2 separate regions of the Homo sapiens genome follow, and region 1 is linked to region 2. The links are contacts of gene promoters, found by promoter capture Hi-C in human tissues and cell types (Jung and others, 2019). All regions are on one chromosome and are shown on one strand. The core of a region is centred on a gene start or on the middle of the fragment in contact, and the rest is flanking DNA. Distances in the headings are between cores, read along the strand shown. Region 1 overlaps MYOCD (myocardin). Region 2 holds the start of ZNF18 (zinc finger protein 18).

What was found. The method cuts DNA at HindIII sites, captures the fragments that hold promoters and counts their contacts. A contact is called where the count stands out against the background at its distance.
Region 1: a fragment that was not itself captured here is called in contact with the fragment with the promoter of ZNF18 in region 2 in 1 of the 25 tissues and cell types used here (aorta).

Annotation. Positions count from the first base shown.
Region 1 is chr17:12,676,560-12,681,015 of GRCh38, forward strand. All of the region lies in intron 1 of MYOCD (myocardin), which reads left to right. The region is part of intron 2 of MYOCD-AS1 (MYOCD antisense RNA 1); the gene reads right to left. Among named protein-coding and RNA genes, the nearest start is that of MYOCD, 13 kb to the left of the region's middle. The HindIII fragment of the contact is 4,406 bases long and covers 489-4,456 here.
Region 2 is chr17:11,995,392-12,000,162 of GRCh38, forward strand. ZNF18 (zinc finger protein 18) reads right to left here and starts at 2,084. Exons shown (of 7, transcript NM_001303281.2): 1 at 2,040-2,084. RefSeq lists a silencer at 1,783-2,232 and enhancers at 2,165-3,148, 2,263-2,502, 2,573-2,652. The HindIII fragment of the contact is 7,782 bases long and covers 1-4,771 here.

The sequences.
Region 1 (4,456 bases), core at 1,442-3,941, 680 kb after region 2:
GATATGGAGTGATGGGGAGTGGGTTAACAATACCATATTTGCATAGCAGCTAAATCAGGAGTTGGCTGAGGCCATGGGAGGTTTAAGTTGTTCTCAAATTCTCATTAATCCTGGGTCATGCTCACAACTCAAAATACAACCAATGAAACTTGCTTCTTAGCTAAGAGACTGAAAACCCACAACTCTGCTATTAATTTTTGTTGGAAAATCTCAATGTATATGTGGTATAGGTATGCCATCTGGCTGACTTGGCTTCAAATCCTGGCCTCCATCCTTATTGATTGTATGATATGAACTCGAGTGCATGCTTTTAAGCTCTCAACCCTCTACTTTTCTATGTGTAAATGTGGAAACAAGAATGCCTCCTTCATTGGAAATTTTTGAGGTTTTAGTGGAAAAGCATATAAAAAGTGCTTGACATAGTGCAGGGATGTGCTGATGTACTCAATAAATGGTAGCTATCTTATTCACACATGAATATTAATTATACTTTAATTCACACTATGCAGCCATAAAAAAGAACGAGATCATGTCCTTTGCAGGGACATGGTTGGAGCTGGAGGCCATTATCTTTAGCAAACTAATGCAAGAACAGAAAACCAGATACCACATGTTCTCACTTACAAGTGGGAGCTCAGTGATGAGAACACATGGACCCATAGAGGGGAGCAACACATACTGGGGCCTGTCGGAGGGTGGAGGATGGGAGGAGGGAGTGGATCAGGAAAAATAACTAATGGGTATTAGGCTTAATACCTGAGTGATGAAATAATCTGTACAACAAACCCCCATGACACGCGTTTACCTGGGTAACAAACCTGCACATCCTGCACATGTGCCCCTAAACTTAAAAATTAAAAAAAAACTTATAGGCCGGGCACAGTGGCTCACGCCTGTAATCCCAGCACTTTGGGAGGCCAAGATGGGCGGATCACGAGGTCAGGAGATCGAGACCAACCTGGCTAACACAGTGAAACCCCATCTCTACTAAAAATACAAAAAATTAGCCGGGCATGGTGGCGGGCACCTGTAGTCCCAGCTACTAGGGAAGCTGAGGCAGGAGAATGGTGTGAACCCAGGAGGCTGAGCTTGCAGTGAGCCGAGATCACGCCACTGTACTCCAGCCTGGGCGACAGAGTGAGACTCTGTCTCAAAAAAAAAAAAGTGTATATTAATTCTCATATCAATGTTTATATCAATATGCTTTGATATGTTAATTTACAATTATTTATGTTATTATAAGATATCATATTGATTCTAAATTCACAATGACCAGCCTCTCATGAATTTCTCTTAAGATTCACTGCCCAGCTATTATCATTTCTCTTTCTTTTTTGTTTTTTTTTTTTTTTGAGGTGGAGTCTCACTCTGTCCCCAGGCTGGAGTGCAGTGGCAACATCTTGGCTCACTGCAACCTCCGCCTCCCAGGTTCTAGCGATTCTCCTGCCTCAGCCTCTCGAGTAGCTGGGACTGCAGGCGTGCACCACCACGCCCAGCTAATTTTTGTATTTTTAGTAGAGATGGGGTTTCACCATGTTGGCCTGGATGGTCTCGATCTCCTGACCTCGTGATTTGCCCGCCTCAGCCTCCCAAAGTGCTGGGATTACAGGTGTGAGCCACCGCGCCCAGCCTATCATTTCTTTTTACCCCAGATTGTGCTTGAGAGTTATGAAGATAATTATTGTCATTATATAACTTATATTGTATTTTGCAAAGTGTTTTATATATCTATCATCACTTATTCTTTTCCTTTCAAAAAAAAAAAACTGAAAAGGCATAATAATTAAACTTATTCTCCGGTGAGGTGTGGTTTTTATTCTGGATCTGGTCTTTTGATGCCTCTGAAGACAGTGCCAAGCCTTGTCTGGGTCTCAGCAAGATCATTACATGCTATGAGGACCAGCAAAGGCTCATGGCTGAGCCCAGATCCTCTTCTCTTATAATTGAGAATGCTGTTCTGTCTAAATATAAAACCAAAGAGAGAGAGAGAGAGAAAACAAAGTTTTGAGGATAGACAGCTGGAGGCAGTCTGCCAAATTATAGCACCTCTTATTTCTTTGATGTATTCAACTCTCTCCCCCACCAAAAAAGATCATATTCATTAATATTTTTATTTTTTTGTTTTCTTCTTATTATTATTTATTATTATTATTTGAGATGGAGTCTCACTCTGTCACCCAGGCTGGAGTGCAGTGGCGCGATCTCGGCTCACTGCAAGCTCCACCTTCCGAGTTCATGGCATTCTCCTGCCTCAGCCTCTGAAGTAGCTGGGACTGTAGGCACCTGCCACCACACCTGGCTAATTTTTTGTATTTTTTTAGTAGAGATGGGGTTTCAGTGTGTTAGCCGGGATGGTCTCAATCTCCTGACCTCGTGATATTTTTCTACCAATTCTGTGAGATTACAAGTTTGATTGTACAGATGAGGTTACTGAGTTTCCAGAAACATTAAGAAATTGGCTCAAGGTCACCCAGCAGATTCAGACCTAGAACTCTCGTCTCGGGGCTTGCAAAACCAAATTTACCACATGGTCCCCCAGAGAAATGCGCAGCCCAAGGGAACATGGTCTTTTCAGATAGGCAGATGCCTGGCATTTAACCTATTTCCTCTCTCAACCTAACAGTCCGTCTGCTTAAAGCTTTTTTTTTAATTTAATTTTTTATTTTAACATGGTAGCCATCTGCACTGGCTTCAAGATTGAAAGAATTAGATGAGAAGGGGAGATGGAAATTCAGCAAATGTAACTCAGGATTGGCTGGGAGAGGAGGACAGAATGAGGCATAGGGATAGCAAAGGAATCCCTGGCTTAGTAGAAATGCAGCCTTCACAAAGGATTGTGTTCTTAACACATAGATTAGAGCATGACACTACAGAATGTCCCAGAGACAGAAAGTATTCTCAAGCATCATGTTTGGTTGTTTCAAAACCTTGTGTCTAACAGTAGAGCCAGGATTATTTTCTAACATTTAAAGAATGGTTAATATACCTACATTTATATATATGTATATGCATATGTTTGTATATGATATATAACATATATATAGTATGAGAGAGGTAAAGATTATCTTTGAGGATGCTCTTTGCAGTGGTATATGTGCTACAGTAACACCGAGGGAAAAACTGGAGTTGGTTAACAAAAAGAAAATATTTAAATACATAAAAAATGGGATTTAACATGCACTTTAAATATCGTGTTTTCAGAGGATCATGAGATGCAAAGATGTTTACAATGCAAGAAGGAGGTTTCAGAATTGCATATGATATAGTCCCAATTCTTGAGAAATTGTAGGGTAGGTACCTTTTTATATCCATGTTCAGGTATATGAATCAGAAGAAAAAAGGCAAAGTATTAGCAGGTGCTGCTTATCTCTGCAGACTTGAATTCCTATTAATTTTGCCTTTCATCCTGAAACTTTTATACATTTTTCAAATTTTCTATAATGAACACGCACTTGTTTTATAGTCAGAAAAGGCAATACATGCTTTAAATGCTATAATAGAATAGTATATATCACAAGCTTCACTTAGGCTCTCAAAAGAACGTAAACCTGTATTCAAGAACCACAGCCCCATGGAATGAAGACTCTCCTCTTAATTTTAGAAGAACTTCTTTGCCTCATAAAATACACCCTTTCTTCCAAACTCTAATTCTCCTTTATATCTAATTTTTATTCAGCTACTTAGTGGATGCCCACGGTTAACCTCATTAATCTTCGTATGGTAATTTATTAGGGATAAAGGGCTCTTAATTTGACCACTATAATTACCCTAGAGGTGAGTATAATGACGTCTGTCTTACAGGGATGGGAAACTAAGGTATAGAAACGGGAATGACCTGCCCGAATTTACACATACAGCATGGTGAAGCACTTGAACTCAGATCTCCTGGCACCCAATCTTGTGGCCTCTCTCGATGAACAAGCGAACACAAGAAGGCGTAAATCTGAGTCCCTTTGTCTCAGGCATCTCTGCAGCAATAGCTTTCAAGGAACGCAGGTCAAATGGCAGGTCCTTTTCCCGGAGGCCCCTCCCACCGGCCCCGGGCGTGTGTGCGCGCTGTCTGCTTAATTCACTCATGGCTCTGTGCCACAGAATACATAAACAAGTGGGGAAAGCCTCAGAGAGGAATCTTGGTGCCCAAATGGAGCAATTTGTCTTCTGAAATTATTGTTTGAAATTGTTTATGTCAGTTGCCGAGTTTCTGTTCTGTACTTCAGGGACCTGTTTGTGATGGAAGGAAAAGTTCCCCGCGGCTGAACAGCCGTGCTAGTTGAACACTTGTAGTGACAGTGTTGTCAGCTGCTTCCCAGTCCTCCCTGACTTGGAGAGGGTTTTGATGAGGTTCCCTACACCCCAATAGAGCACCCCAAGAACTATCTGATGCTCACATGCCTGCTGCGTGTGCTAACTAATTTAATCCTTACAGCAATCCTGTAAGGAGGTACTGTTGTTACAG
Region 2 (4,771 bases), core at 834-3,333:
AGAAACCCAGGCCAGGCGCGGTGGGTCACGCCTGCAATCCCAGCACTTTGGAAGCCCTAGGCGGGAGGACCACCTGTGGTCAAGAGTTTGAGACCAGCCTGGCCAACGCAGTAAAACCCCATCTCTACTAAAAATACAAAAATTAGCTGGGCATGGTGGTGCGCACCTGTAATCCCAGCAACTCAGGAGGCTGAGGTAGGAGAACAGCCTGAACCTGGGAGGCGGAAGTTGCAGTGAGTCAAGATCGTACCACTGCACTCCAGCCTGGGCGACAGAGGGAGACTCCATCTCAAAAAAAAAAAAAAAAAGAGTCAGTGAAGTCAAAAAATCTGAACACTATCAACCGACTTGCTCTAATTGACATTTTCAGAACACTAGACCCAAGAACTGCAGAGTATACATTCATTACAAGTGCAAAGAGTATTCATCAAAACAGACCATATGCATAATTTTCAAATGACTGATATCTTAAAATTAGCTCTAAAAATATTACGCAAAGTGGTATTGCTAAAAAGCCATTAAAGCAATACCAAAAAACACTCAAAAACCCAATATCTGATAGAAAAGGAACACAAGAGAAACAAAACCAGAAAGGTCAAATGGAAAACTTTAGAGCTTCCTGGGTTCAAATATATTCTCTGATCATAGTGCAATTAAAGTAGAAATCAATAACAATAACTAGAAAATCCCAATTTATGGAAATTACTAAATAATGCTCTTAACCCATAGTCAAAGAAAAAAATCACAAAGGAAATTAAAATATGTTTTCATACTGAGTGACAATGACAGCATTATCAAACCACCTGAAAAGCAGCTTTAGCTCAGAGGTAAACCTACAGTTTCAAATAACATCTTAAAAAACGAATAAATATATTTTTAAAAATACCTTGCTTTGTAAATCCAACCTATTTGGCTCAAGAGTTTCAAATAACAAGCGGCAAGATTTTAGATAGCAAGATACCGACCTGTAAACTTACTGCAATTTATCTGTTTCCTAAATTAAGATAGCAGTTTAGATAATATTTAAGAGAAATGACATTTTGGAAAAACTACAGATTTTATAAAATACTTAAATCTTTTGTTAGTAATATTATACTCCCAGGTAGTGTGTAAGAAAAATGTCTCGATTATTCAAAATTAAATTACTTTATATAGTATTAAAAATTTAATAGAGTTTATATTCCGATAACCTCATGAGGAACTGCCCCCATTAGTTATGAAAAAAAAATAAGGTTGTCTGTTATACCTGTTATTAAACCTTTAACAAATAGAATGAATTTTTAAAAGTGCATTCTAGGTGTAATATACACAAGTGGTTACATACATGGTTACATATATAAGTAACCATTTGTTAAGCACCTACTACGTATCGGCTCATTATTAAGCTCGGTTCATGTATTTCCAATTCCCACAATTACCCTGGTGTACAGATCAGGAACCTCCGAGGCTCACAAGTGGCAGCCAGATTAACCCAGGAAGCTCTAAAGCCTTTGCTTTGGGGAGAACTGCCAACGTCTGGTGATTTGTTGGGGCGTTTTCTGGTTGTCACAAGCAGCTAGGGGAACTGGCATTTAGTGCTCGAGGCCAGGGCAGCGCTGCTCATTGGATATGTATTCTCCACCATGCGCCCCCCAAATGCCGACTGCACTCTGATGAGAGAGGGAGAGACTCCAGGCATCATCCCATCGGGTTTCCTCTTCCAGAGACTCATTTTCAGCCCTTAGGGGAAGACAGCGGGGAGGAGCCCGTTTTCGGTCCCAGTGCAGAGACCCGGCCGGTCCCGCGGGGCGCAGAGGCGCAGGAATGCAGAGCCGGGACGGGGTTCACACATCCCCCCGCACCCACGGTCCACTCCCAGCCATGGCTGCCCCGGCCCCGCACTCGCCACGTCCCCCGCGCGCTCCCAGACGCATGGGCAAGGGAGCCCGCTGGCCCCTCCGTAGCTCCGGGGTGCCCAGCTGAGTCAGGTGCGGACGCAGATAGCGCAAGGCCTGACCCCGAGCGGCCGGAGGCCGGGACCGCCCCGCAAGCGCGCTCACCTCGGCCCGCGGCGCCGGCTCCGGGCGCACTTCCGGGAGCTGGGTGGCTGCGCGCGCCTCAGGCGGCAGGCGAACGACGTGCGGCACCGGGCGGAGCTAGGGGGCGGGGGCGGAGCTGATACCGAAGCTCCTATTGGCCGTCGGGGACGCCCCGCCTCTCTCTGGCGTTGCAGCCCAGGAGCCTCCACCGACATGGCAGCGAGGTTCCCGAGCCAACGCCATCCTCCGTTCCTTCCGTCACTCACTCACTAATCACTGTTCCTGAGTTCCTTCACTTCTCACCCGTCATTTATTGCGCACCTATTCTGTGCCAGGCACTCGGCCAAGCACTGCGAGGCCTTCAAAGATCATTTCTTTGTCTCTCCCAAACCCTTCCGCCCAGTCCCACCCGCAGAGCTGCAACGCTCTGCCATTATCCCTGATTCTTAACCGCCGCCTTTCTCCTTTCCGTTCTTGCCTCACTGGGCCTCCCTGAGACACTTGATTTGCCCCAACCTTCTTCCTCTGTCTTGGTTCTCCCACTCTCATCAGCTCTGCATCCCCTGGGTCCTCTCCCACTTCTCCCCATTCCGTTGGGGCTAGTCCAATGTGGTGCCATCCTCTTTCCACCTGCGTCTCTCTCTCTTCTCTCTCTCTCTCTCAACAAATGTCATCCCTGACTCTTCCCTTCTCCTTCCCTTTCCCACACGCCAACAATGGCTGAATCCTCTGATTTGACCTCATTGTCTCTCAGACACCTCACCCTCTCTCCCTTCTCACTATCCCTCCCTCGGCTCAGTTCCACACCATTTGTAATGGTCAAGACCTTCTTACCCTTTCCCCAGCGTCCAGTGTTGCCGGTTTCCAGGCCATCCTGTGCTGGGCCACGACATCAACTTGTGATACTAAGTTGCATTAATGGAAGTATCATGTCAAAGTTTGGGTGTTCCACCTTGGGCAACTGGCAAAGAGGAGGGTATTCAAAAAAAGCTGCCATGTTCCCCAATAACCTATGGAAATAAAATAAATAAAAAATAAAAATTTAAAGAAGAGCTGTCATTATCATAACATGTCCTGTACCTGTCATTATCATAACATGTCCTGTACCTGTCATTATCATAACATGTCCTGTACCTGTCATTATCATAACATGTCCTGTACCTGTCATTATCATAACATGTCCTGTACCTGTCATTATCATAACATGTCCTGTACCTGTCCCATGTTTACAAGAATTAAAGATCCTCCTCTGGAGAAATAAAGCTTGATGCGGGGATGGGATTACATCTTCATGTACCTGAAAAGTGACCAGCGGAAAAGGGATTCGACATGTTCTCTTAAGTCCCAGGGTCTGAACAAGATCCTATGTGTGAAACTACTGTTTCAGCCTGACATAGGTGGAAGTTTCTAGTCTTTTTTTTTTTTTTTTTTTTTTTTTGTATTTTTGGTGGAGACGGGGTTTCACCATGTTGGCCAGGCTGGTCTCGAACTCGTGACCTCAAGTGATCCACCCACCTTGGCCTCCCAAAGTGCTGGGATTACAGGCATGAGCCATGGCACCTAGCTGGACGTTTCTAACATTCATGTGATTGATGGCGCTGCTTTGAGTTCCTGAGGACAGCATGGCTAACAATTTACCAGGCACATTTAGAGGGACACCTTCATTGGGTATTGCTTCCAACATCAATGTGCTCTGCTTCTAAGAAAGTCAAGAGATAAGGTGGTTTAGAGGGGAAGATTATAGGAGTTTTATCTTCAATGTGTTCGCTTTTAGCTGATCAACACCCAAGGAAGATAACAGTAATTCAAAACCATTAATTGGGTTCTGACTCCTTTGTGAATCTGATGGAAGGTAAAATTTTTCCCAAGAAAAATGCACATACACATCTACATACAACACTTTGCACTCAAATCCAGGGAGCTAACACAGCCTTGAAACCCATCCTTGGAACCCACAAACCTCAGTTTGAGAACTCTAATCCTGGTAGATGGTTCCTGATATGAAAATGACACTTTGAAGTTTAATAATTTCTTTATAAACTGGCACCTTAGGAAAAGGCATAAACACTTATTTCGAAACAGGCTGAACAATCAAAATATTTTTTAAAATAGGGAGATATCTACCTCAGCTTAGGAAATAATGAAAAGGTGTCATCTATTTCTATTATTCACTTACTCATTCAATAAATATTTACCAGATGATGTGCCCAGCACTCTTCCAATAGCTATATATGCAAGAATGAACTAAACACACAAAGTCCCAGCCCTCCCAAGACTTATATTTTGTAGGGTGAGCTGGACAATAAATAAGTGCACAAGTGGTAATTATAGGTGTTGTGAAGAAAATTACATTGGGGTAAGGAGGAGAGGTACTGTTAGAGATGGAGTGCAAGTTATATAGGATGGTCAGGGAAGGACTAACAGATAAAACAGGCTTGAATCCAGACCGGAAGTTAATTAAGACGCAAGCCTTGCGTGTATCTGTGGGAACCTCCAGGCAGAGGAAATTGCAAAAGTTTTTGTTGTTGTTGTTGTTTGAGACAGAATCTTGCTCTGTTGCCCAATGTAGTGCCAGAATCTCAGCTCACTGCAACCTCCGACTCCAGGTTTAAGTGATTCTCCTGCCTCAGCCTCCTGAGTAGCTGGGATTACACATGCTTGCCACCGTGCCCAGCTACTTTTTGTATTTTTAGCAGAGATGAAGTTTCATCATGTTGGCCAGGCTGGTCTCAAATTCCTGACCTCAGGTGATC